Linked DNA regions of Homo sapiens: regions 2, 3 and 4 are each linked to region 1. The links are contacts of gene promoters, found by promoter capture Hi-C in blood cells and fetal thymus (Javierre and others, 2016). All regions are on one chromosome and are shown on one strand. The core of a region is centred on a gene start or on the middle of the fragment in contact, and the rest is flanking DNA. Distances in the headings are between cores, read along the strand shown.

What was found. Contacts are between HindIII fragments. The CHiCAGO score rates a contact against its expected background, and 5 or more counts as called.
Region 2: a fragment that was not itself captured here is called in contact with the fragment with the promoter of RPE in region 1 in 1 of 17 cell types (monocytes); the score reaches 8.7 in monocytes.
Region 3: a contact is called between the fragment with the promoter of BARD1 here and the fragment with the promoter of RPE in region 1, in 5 of 17 cell types (total CD8 T cells, non-activated CD4 T cells, naive CD4 T cells and 2 more). The highest score is 14.0, in total CD8 T cells.
Region 4: a fragment that was not itself captured here is called in contact with the fragment with the promoter of RPE in region 1 in 1 of 17 cell types (M0 macrophages); the score reaches 8.4 in M0 macrophages.

What each region holds. Positions count from the first base shown.
Region 1 is chr2:210,001,240-210,004,014 of GRCh38, forward strand. RPE (ribulose-5-phosphate-3-epimerase) reads left to right here and starts at 1,399. Exons shown (of 6, transcript NM_199229.3): 1 at 1,399-1,544. The coding sequence starts at 1,423. RefSeq lists enhancers at 1,408-1,457, 1,498-1,667. The HindIII fragment of the contact is 5,690 bases long and covers 1-2,775 here.
Region 2 is chr2:206,767,611-206,770,310 of GRCh38, forward strand. FASTKD2 (FAST kinase domains 2) reads left to right here. Exons shown (of 12, transcript NM_001136193.2): 3 at 2,481-2,584. Among named protein-coding and RNA genes, the nearest start is that of FASTKD2, 3.4 kb to the left of the region's middle. RefSeq lists an enhancer at 2,089-2,700. The HindIII fragment of the contact is 2,931 bases long and covers 1-2,700 here.
Region 3 is chr2:214,808,275-214,810,974 of GRCh38, forward strand. BARD1 (BRCA1 associated RING domain 1) reads right to left here and starts at 1,409. Exons shown (of 11, transcript NM_000465.4): 1 at 1,138-1,409. The coding sequence starts at 1,295. It overlaps SNHG31 (small nucleolar RNA host gene 31), which reads left to right and starts at 1,955. Exons shown (of 4, transcript NR_110292.1): 1 at 1,955-2,158. RefSeq lists enhancers at 348-397, 688-767 and a silencer at 1,318-1,887. The HindIII fragment of the contact is 4,673 bases long and covers 1-2,136 here.
Region 4 is chr2:205,688,663-205,691,411 of GRCh38, forward strand. All of the region lies in intron 1 of NRP2 (neuropilin 2), which reads left to right. Among named protein-coding and RNA genes, the nearest start is that of NRP2, 7.5 kb to the left of the region's middle. The HindIII fragment of the contact is 3,135 bases long and covers 1-2,749 here.

The DNA of each region.
Region 1 (2,775 bases), core at 149-2,648:
TTCCTGACCCTAGGCACATTTAGCATCAGGATACTCATCCATTTCTGAACTGTGTGTGAACAGCACACAAACCTATCACAATTTGTGAATGAGCATTGGAGAGGTGTAGGGGCCAAGGGAAAACTTTCCCTTCACCCTCCAAAGGTTTGCTGAAAATCACTGACAGAAAGAAGATTAACAGGAGAAAAGGCATAAAAACTTATTTGATTATAGTTTTACCTGACACAGGAGCCTTCAGAATGAAGACCCAAAGGTACAGGGGTGATTACCCATTTTTATACTTAGGTTCAACAAAGTATAGACAGCCATGTAGAAATACGATTGGACAAAATAGGCGATCTAATGCTAATAGACTGACCTGGCCTTGGCCAGTCTAGTTTAGATTCCTGGCCTCTCTGTGCAGCATTCCCTCCTCCTGGATATGGGATAGAACCTTCTCTAGAAGAGGAGTTTTATAACCTACAGTTGAGATGGGTCAAATAATTTATGGCCAGTTTTTACACAGAAAGGTGGAGGAAAGTTAGAGTAATGCTTTTGGGTTTTGTGTCTGGCTTCAGGGAAAGGGGGTTCCGGTTTCAATGACTCTTCTTAGGGAAGATGGGCTCCAGTTTCTATGACCTGCCTCCTAGAATGAGACTGAGAAGAGAGCAGGGCAGGAAGTCAGAGAAACACTGTTGCGTCTGAGGCCTTCACTTTGGGCTATCATTTTCTGAGCCTCAACAGAGGGAAAAACAAAAAAGGTAAGGAGGAACTGCAAAGGCAGAAAAAGAGGGTAATATAATAATAACTACCATTTTGTACTGAGCACCAGGCATCCTGCTGGGCGCATTACCTGGCTTCACTCATTTAATACAACCCTAAAGCTGGGCACTGTCTTTACAGATGAGAAAACCGAAGTTAAGAAGTGATTTGCCAGGTCACCCAGCTAGTATCTGGCAGAGCCAGGGTTCCTCCAGCTCAAAAGAAGAGCTCTAGGAGAAATACGAGGAAGAAAGGTTTTTAATTGTTGTTTTAAAGGGCCAGCATAGGCGCTGGAGAGGAAAGAAAGGCATATGCAAAGGGTGGAGAAACAAAAAGTGATGTTAAGTCAAGAGCCGAGGAGAGGGAACTGCAGGAGAAGCAAAGTGAAAAAAGGTTAAGAAACGCCTTGAGTACTGCGAGGACGTTAAGATCCAAACAGCACAAGAAGGAAGGTCAAAATCAGGTGTACGAGGCCCGTGTGCCCCGCCCCGCCCCAGGCGGACGGCTGACAGCGCCCCACCCCAGGAGGAGGCGGGACTTCCTCACCGCAGAGTGGCTGCTTCCGGTAGAATCCGGAAGCCTGTACGGAGAAGGGGCGGGGCCAAAACTGCGCGCCCAATCGGGGTGACGCTCTAGCCTTGCCGGGGACTCGTGGGTAACTTGCTTTTGGGAGCCAGCGGTATGGCGTCGGGCTGCAAGATTGGCCCGTCCATCCTCAACAGCGACCTGGCCAATTTAGGGGCCGAGTGCCTCCGGATGCTAGACTCTGGGGCCGATTATCTGCACCTGGACGTAATGGACGGGTAACTCCTCCGGGCTCCGGTCGGGCTTGCCGCGCGGCGGGGCGGATCAGTGCACCTTTATTGACTGCTTGTTGGATGTACCGCGTCCCTGTACCACCGAGCGCCTCACTCTGAACGCGATGCTAGAAGGGGTGTGGGGTAGGAGCCCTGGAGGCTCTAGCAGGAGCAGAACCGACGCGGTATCCTGGGTTGCGGCCGGGTCCCAAACCTCAGTTCCTCCCCTCCCCCCACGTAACGTGTGGTCTTCCATCACTTAGGACCCGGAAGCGACCTAAATCTTTAGGACATTTCTTCACTTTCAGCTAGAGAAACTGAGGCCCAAGGGGAGAAGCATGACTTGCCCAAGCTCATATAGCTAGTTAGTGGCAAAGCTGGGGAAACAGACTTCTCTAACGATTTAAGTTGGCACCTGCGGTTAGGTTCCCGAGTTCTGCCACTTGCTGGGTTACCTTGGACAAGCCACTAACCTCATTGAGCTTCAGTTTCATAATTTGAAAAATGGAACTACTAACAGAACCTACCGCTTAGGCATCTTGGAAGATGAAATGAGCGAGTACATGAGAAGTTTACAGTGCCTGGCGTATATTAAGTTCTCTATAATTGTTAATTACATCATTATTACAATTCTGATTTTCCTGTCTATTTTCTCTTCAGGCACCCTGCTCTTCAGGGAGGTCAGTTTTTTGTAAGTAATTTTTAAGCACCGTAGTTACAGCACATAATATTGTTTGGAGTCAGGATATTAGTTTCTGAAGTTGGTTACAGAATGAGGAAACAACCCCAGAGAAAGCAGTAAGACTCCCTCAAGATTACAGAAGATTGTGACAGACTTGCAACTTGGCTCTTCCTAGGTTTGCCAAGTAGTTCTCTGAGCCCCACTGTTAACTGACTATAAAAATCATAAATACCATTATCTTGAGTGGGGATGGAAAAATAAATTTATTTTAAATAGGTAAAAACCCTGTGTTCCCTCATTCAGTTTGCAAATTGGTGTTATTTTCTAAAGGTGATGATTTCCTTTTCTTTTTAATGTTAATCTGGCTTTGAAGAGTTTTATCTTCCATTGCTCTATGTGGTTAAATGTATTGTTTCTCTTTGGCATTTTACCCAGTTACCTTAGGAGTCCACCCAACTGATAATGACAAAACTTTGACCATAGAGTACTAAAAATAATAGGCCAAATGTGTAAAAAGTTTAGTAAATATTACCTCTCACAAAGGTTGGCTTTTAA
Region 2 (2,700 bases), core at 20-2,519, 3.2 Mb before region 1:
TATTATATGATTTAGAGGCCTTAAGTTAGCTATTTTCTTCCTTTTGCTATGGAAATTTATGAAAGCCTTCCACATTTACCATCCCCAGGGTTGAGTAGTGGTGAAGAAGCTAAAGTGAGGAGAGATGCAAGATATACAAAGAAAGCCTGGGTAGTTGAAGAAGGAGAGAAGGGAAGGGGAAGGAAGAGAATTTAGTCCATGGTAGAATTGGAATTCAGGCCCAGTAGATGATACCTAAACTGATGAGCAGAATGATAGTGAAGGGGATGGTGTTTCAAGTAGAGAGGATTGCATGCCCTACTGTTCCCAGAGGAAAAGTTTGGCAAATTTGAAGAGCTGAAAGTAGTTTGGTGTAGCTGAAGCACAGAATGATGGAGTTGTATGTTTGAGTGGGTGGGAACAAGTTTTGTACATGGCGATCAAAGGAGAGGAGTGAGGGGCAAGAGGCTTAGGGGCAGAACAAGAGGCCAGAAAAATAGGAACCAAATCATAAAGAGCCTCTTACGGCTAGCTAAGGAGTATGCATTTATCCTGTAGGCAATGGGAATCCGTTGAAGAATTTTAAGCAATGGGTTGACGTGCTCAAATTTGTATTTTAGATCACTGAATGAGTGGAAGATGTATTGGAAGAAGGTTAAAATTGGATGGAGGGAGCCATTTTTAGTCTAAAGCAAGAATGTCAGTGTCCTGTTTAATGTCACTGAAATGGTGCCAAATGTAAGGAAGGAAGGATTAGCTTGTTAATCATTTATGTTTTAAGAGTGTACACTTCTGACGTATAAACTCAGTGATAATGAAGTAATTTCTTAGCCAGGTGTGGTGGCTCACACCTGTAATCCCAGCACTTTGGGAGGCCAAGGCAGGAGGATCTCTTGAGCCCAGGAGTTTGCGACCAGCCTGGGCAACAAAGGGAGACTCCATCTCTACAAAAAATACAAAAATTAGCTGGGTGTGATGTACTTGCCTGTGGTCCCAGCTACTTGGGAGGCTGAGGTGGGAATATCACTTGAGCCTGGGAGGTCGAAGCTGCCGTGAGCCATGATCGTGCCACTGCACTCCAGCCTGGGTGACAGAGCCAGACCCTGTCTGAAAATAATAATAATAATTTTTTAAAAGACAGGAATTCCTTGGGGATAATCTGGCATATATCCTGTCTTGCTATAGAATTCAATAATTGGGTTCATAGCTATGGGAAAGTTTTTAACTTTTTACATTACTGTGATTTCCATATGTCCTTAAGGAATAACTAATTTTTATTTAGTGTATGTGTGTGTATTTGTTTAAACCACAGAATATCCCTGTTTATTTGTAGGCTGTGTATTAGTTCCTATGTAGTTATTTAAAAGTGACTAATAAATCACCTTACCTGGTCAGTGATGCTCTTACTAGATTTTGGACAGATATTTGCATCGGGATGACATCTGTGTTGGTGAGGTATGAGTAGTAGATTTTTGTAGTCAAAACATCTGTATGGATGATGGTGTCTCACTGACCTGTTGGAATAATGTAAAGACATTTTAGAGGTGAAAGGACAGTGTGCCATCAATGAATTTGCCCTTCAAACACATAGACAAGTGGTCTTTTCTTTCATAGTAGATATGGATGGAATGCTGTAAAATTGTTAAGGAAACCCTTTCATAGGAAAGAAACCTTTTTTTTCTTCTAACCATAACCATTTCTTATTATTACCTGGTTCTGACTTAAGACTTTGTGATTCATTGGTTATGTAATTTTAGCAAAAGAGCTTCTCTCTCTTCAGGCTAAGTTTCCTCAGATGTGATTTTTTGTGAGGTTTATAGACTAGTGATTAAACTGTAGAGTACTGCTAGTTAAGCTGTGTTGTTACTATTCACTTTCCAGATTATGCCCACTATTTCTGGAATCAAACTTAGTACCCTAAGTAAAGGGACCTGAAAGAAGAATCTGTGGGGTGTAGGCTTCCCTTGAGACCCAGATAGCAGTGGTAGAATGTGGCAGGAGATGTGAATCAGAAGACTCACAAGTAAAGTTTCAGCTTGATACCCAGGAAAGGATCTAGGGAAATTGTAAAGGCACAACCATTTAAGGATCTTTAGAGATGGGCTAGTTACCTTCTGTACTTCAGTAGTTCTTATATTCCTGCACTTTAACTGTTTTTGCCTTTGTAATGACCTTGAATTCCAAGAAGAGGTAAAAATAATGTTTAATAAAAGTTGTTTCAGAAGCAGTGGAATATAATAAATATCAAATGTGTTTTCAGTGATAATGGTGAAGGTAAAAAAGTGTTGATGCATAAAAGGATGTGTATCAGTCAGCTGGAAAATTCAGTAAGTATGACTTTTTATTTCCCAAAGATGCTGTTTATTGTGGACTGACTGTAGGAATTGTTGGTTTGATACTCAATCGTTTTATTCAGTACATCAGTTCAGTGGTTTTGCTTGGGTAAGATAGTTTACTATGGGCTCATCACCTGTAGTGTTTTTGTAATTATATTTCAATAGGAACGTATCAATGAGTGTGATGAGATATGCCTTTCAGTTTTGTCAACTGTTTTAGAGGCAATGGAACCATGCAAGAATGTTCATGTTCTACGAACGGGATTCAGGTGAGAACTCTCTTATGCTTTCTTCATGTGGTTTTCTTTGTTCCTCATATATCTGGAATAAAAAAATTGAGATGAAAACTAAACTCCTTTCTTGAGGGGAGGAGGGGTTGGGGAGG
Region 3 (2,700 bases), core at 159-2,658, 4.8 Mb after region 1:
GGCGGGCGCCTGCAGTCCCAGCTACTTGGGAGGCTGAAGCAGGAGAATGGCGTGAACCCGGGAGGCGGAGCTTGCAGTGAGACAAGATCGTGCCACTGCACTCCAGCCTGGGCGACAGAGCGAGACTCCGTCTCAAAAAAGGAAAGAAAAGAAAAAGTTGTGTTACTTATACTTTATGCAACTAGGTAACTTAAGTTCTGCAAGTTAGAAATCAAAGGGGAAAAAAGTCCAAAAAGGATATAAACTTTTGACAGCTACAAATAACAAAAAAACTGCCAGTGATCTTCATACAGAAATACTTAGCTGTACACACAGCAAGTGCTCAATAAAAATGCTTTTCAGAAGAAATGAAAATGAGACAAACCTTTCTTGGGTTTTACAAACCTTCTTGGTTTGTATACTAGAAAGAGCTACACGAAAAAAAGCAAGAAGTAACACTCATGAAAATGTCTTTGGACGGAATGAAAACCCTGAGAGGACTCCCATAATGTGACAGCATGAAGGAAAACAATAAACAGCATCACTAAGAGCGGGGACACCAGACATACAGTCTTTTGAGCAAACTAAGAAAATGAGAAATTCCGTGCCATCTTCAATCTACAACTATGGTAGATATCCGATGCTCCATCCCATCTCACTCGAAAAAGCTGGCACGGAGAAAATGTCAAAAAGGCCAGTTTAACTTAGAGTGGCAGCTGCTTCTAATTTAGAGGGTCTCCGGGGCGGCCCGCCAGCCCAATTCGCCACAGCTCCCGGAAAGCAGCGGGGTAATCCAGGGCCGGGTAAAAAATGCAGAAGCCTCAGCCCCACCCCAGCCCGATTCAAACTCTGGAGGCGCGACCGGGATGAACATTTTTTTAGCCACACCTCCAGACGGTTCTTCAGCCCGCTGAAGTTCAAAAACTACCGTTTCAGTTGGATTCAGGGCAAGGGGAGGCCGGTAAGTCGCCCAAAAATAAAGTGAATGAGAAGCAGAAGTTGTTAATACTATATCCCCCGGCAGGTGCTAACCGCACGCCGACCCGACTGCAGCGCGGGAACGGAAGGAGGAAACGGAAGATTTGAAAAGATTCTGCCGCCCCCAGAAACTGTGCGACCCGTGCCCTCGCAGCCACCCCCAAGAAGCTCCGTCTTTACCAACGCGAGCAGCGCAGCAGCTTCTCCAGGCGGTCGAGCGCGGCGCGACTGTGGGCCCAGGCACCGCGACCATCCGGTTCCATGGCGGGCGCGGAACGAGGCTCGTTCCCGGAGCGGATCCTCGGCTGCCGGTTCCTCGGCTGCCGATTATCCGGCATCGTCCCGCCTTCGGATGAAAGGCTCCTCGCAGAGCGGGAAGCAAGGAAGCCTCGGGAAACCACAGGGAAGCTGCAGGCCAGCGACTCGAAACCGGCCAAGCTCTTCCCGCGTCTGGGACGGCGGGCCGCCAGAGGGGCGGGGCGCGCGGGGAGGGGCGGGGCACGGCGGCCGCAATGCTCCCAAAATAGGGACTCGCAGGGCACAGGGGCGGGGCCGCGAGAGCCAGCCGCTGGCCGAGTGGGCGGGACCTAGGGGTGGGGCTGGAGGCTGAAACTTGCCAAAGTCCCGGCGTGTGGGACTTAGGGGAGGGGCCGCGAGAGCCGTGGGACCGAGGGGGCGGGGCCGGACGGCTGAAACTTGCCAAAGTCCCGGCGCGCGGGTCCTAGGGGCGGAGCCGCGAGAACACGCCGGGGACAGAGGGGGCGGGGCCTAGGAGCCTCGGGGCGGGACAGGACGGTCGAAACCGAAGTCCTGGCGCGCGGGGCCCAGGGGCGGGGCCTAGGGGCCTCGGGGCAGGACAGGACGGCTGAAACCGAGGTCCCGGCGCGCGGGGCCCAGGCGCCGTGCAGTGAGAGCACGCCGCTTGACCGAAGGGGCGGGGCCTGAAGGCTGAGCGCAGTCGCGAGGCTGTAGTTGGCAGGAGAGCGGGCGGGGCCTGAAGCCCCTCTGGGCTGCCTGGACGGATGAAGTCCAGGTGGAAAGCCAGTCGACGTTTCCCGGGAGCTACGACTCCAGGGACCCTCATCCGAGCTTAACCGTTGGAACAATCACAAACCCAGAAACTTTTAGCTGAGTGTTATTTATAAAAAGCGCTGTTTTGACTGCTGTTGGACTTGGAAAAGCTTTGCCCACGATACTGAAGGTACCACTCTTTGTTCCTAAGAAAGCAACCTTTTCTTTCCTCTCACCTCAGCTGTGGCGTATATTGTAACTGAGTAAAAATAAGGAAAGTTTCTAATTCTAACTAGTTAACAAATATCAGCTCAAAGGCATGTCTGAAAAGATCTGGTTTACTTTTAAAATATTGGTATAAAATTTCAAAAAGGGTTTTTTTTGTTAGAGAGTGTGTCCACCTTCCTCCTCCAGATCTTTCACTGATCGCCGTAATTTACAGATAAGACCTACAGAGCAACCCGTCATGCCTTCCTGCCGCGCCCCAAGTTCATTTCCAAGTCCTTGCATTTTTTCCCCCTAACTTGTCTCGAATGCACCCATTTTCTCTCCGTCTCTGCTCCACAACATCCCCAGTTGCCTCGTCCTCGCCTGGTTTCCTGTCGTAGCTTTCTAGCTGATATCCAAGTGTCTATCCAGGTCCCAGCCAGTCCCGAGACTGCGGTGTGGCCGCCTAAAACATTTCCAAACACAAAACTCATCGTGGCACTTCCCTTTCTTAAAACTCCTTAA
Region 4 (2,749 bases), core at 103-2,602, 4.3 Mb before region 1:
TTTTAACCACTGGGAACATTGCCAAATTATGTGACCTTTGGCAGACCAGCTGTGCTATAAAAATAAATCCCCCATTTCTGAAAATGCTACTCCTATCCAGTAGAACAATAACAATGTGGCATTTAGGATAGAGAAGAGTAGGATTGAGAAGAAAGGAGAGAAATAGGAGTTGGCAAAAAACAAAAAAACAAAACAAAACAAAAAAAACAAAAAAACCCTTCGATGTTGTGATACATGGTTTCAGACCTGAACTTCCTATCCATCACCCGCCCTCCCCGGCCCCATGCCTAGGGTTTCCAGAACACAGGAAAGAGGGCCAGGATGACAAGGAGCTGAGTGCCTGTGTGTACAGGGAGTGGAGAAGGTGTTAAGTGCTTCCAGCCCACTCACACCCCAGCCTCAAACACATCTCTCATTGTTCACACAGACAGAGTACTGGCACAGGCAGAGAAAAGGGGGTTTTCAAACAGGCAAAATATTTGTCTTTCCCTAAATGCTACCAAGTAGGTTTGCCACTGAGAAGTTTTGTGGGGATCATCCCTGGCCTTCCCAGCTTCTGAAACATGGGAACTAGACTGCCTGGGTTTAGAATCTAGCTCAGCCACTTGCTGGCTCTGTGATCCCAGTATCCTGTGTGATCAGATACTTAGTCTATGTGCCTCGGTTTCCTTGTCTGTAAATGTGTTTGGTAACAATACCTACTTCATAGGGTTGTTGGGCTATGTCAGATTATGTAGAATACTGTTTGGCACATATGAAGCCCATTCTGAAGTCACTGAATCTTTAAAACTGTTTCAGTGGGGTTAGTGGAATCTCGTGATCGTAGAAAGCACACTATAACCATTGTGGTAAGTTGATTTTTATGAGATTTAAAAAATAATTCTTATTCTCAGTTCTTCCACCACCAAACCTCTGTGTTTTGTAAGCACCATATTATCTCTCGCCATGCTCTTCTTCAGAGAATATTCTCTGCTGAGTTCTTATCTTAGATTTATGTCTCCCTTGCATTTTTTCCCTCCTTCTTCCTCTGTTTTCAGTATTCTTACCTCCTATTTTCTTTTTAATCTCTCATTTCCTTTCCTTTTCCTCCCCTTCCATCCTTCAACACTGAGAGTGTGCTCAGCAGGGAACACCGTGTTTAAGGCGCTCTCCCGAATGTGTAATAACTTCTACTCTGGCACTAAGGCCCTTCAGCAGCTGAACTCAAAAAAGTCATCATAAAGACAAAATAGCTTTTACCCAGCAAGGGTCTTAATAATCCCATTTCCCTCTGGGTCTTCATAAAGGAGTCATTATCTAATCCAGAAAAAAAGGAGGGGCTGGGAATAACAAAAGAGAAGCTCTCGGTAGCACAGAGTGCACGAGGCTGCCGGCCAGCTGAGTGCACGTGGCCGTGGTACCCTGCTCCCGCCTCCACAAATCCTGCGATAACCAGTAACCAGTTCTGGCGAGTCTTTCAGCAGAGAAGATAATGGGAATTGCAAATTACTAGACCGAATGCTAATAATAATTGTTTGGATACAGGAGAAAAAATAAAACAGATGTTCCCCAAAGGCATTCTAGGGGCTACAGAAAGGAAAATGAGGAGGGGGTTGAGTAAAGAGAGGTTTGCTGAAACCAAGCACAAGAAAATCCAATACCAACAAATGGCTTAGTGATGAAGTAATAGTCAGCATCTTCCTGGTGGTACAGATAACCAATATTTAAAGTTGCCTTTGGAAGTGTGGGGGTTGGAGTGAAGGGGACAAAACCCCTGAGATAAATTAATTTTACTAGTATTAAAAATAAAATGGCCGAGCATGGTGGCTCATGCCTGTAATCCCAGCACTTTGGGAGGAGGAGGTGGGCAGATCACCTGAGGTCAGGAGTTCGAGACCAGCCTGGCCAACATAGCAAGACCCCATCCCTGCTAAAAATACACACACACACACACACACACACACACACACACACACACACACACACACAATAGCTGGGTATGGTGGTGGGCGCCTATAATCCCAGCTACTTGGGAGGCTAAGGCAGGAAAATCGCTTAAACTTGGGAGGCGGAGGTTGCAGTGGGCCGAGATTGTGCCACTGCACTCTAGCCTGGGTGACAGAGTGAGACTCTGTCTCAAAAAATAAAATAAAATAAAATAAAATGTGAATGTGCTTTGAAATTTATCATTATTATCTGCTTTAGGGTGTTCTAGGAGACATAGTTCGCACTAACTCTACCTTGACCTACTTGTGACTAGGTATTATTATCCCAGACAAGTTATTCAAACTCTCAATTCACCACTAAGAAACATTTGCACTTAATAACAGCTGGGGGTGGGGAGGGAAGCGCAGTAGCTGTGGCCGCAGAATAATTTCTGATAGAACTCTCAGAGTCTGTCCTATCTAGTGATACCTTTGATGTTCCTTTGGTCACTTCTTAATTGGTTAATTCACCAAATCTTGATGAGTCTGACTTTTGGGAAAGGTTCTGGTTTGATCCTGTAAGACTTGCCAAAGATGGATCAGCAAGGAGTCATGACCTCAAGTTGCTGGTGGCTCAGTAGACTGGATGAGGCCCTCCAGAACTCTCACACATCTCAGAAGATGCTAAAGAGCTTCAGCCTCTCAGATGCACAGAGGAGAAAGACCACTCCCAGTATGGGAGAGGAGAAAGGGCAGAGGCAGCCTGGAGTGAGAGAGTAGGTGGGATTTAGAGCAGGGAAGGGCATACCAGGGGAAGGGGAAGGTGTGAGTAGAGAAATGGATGC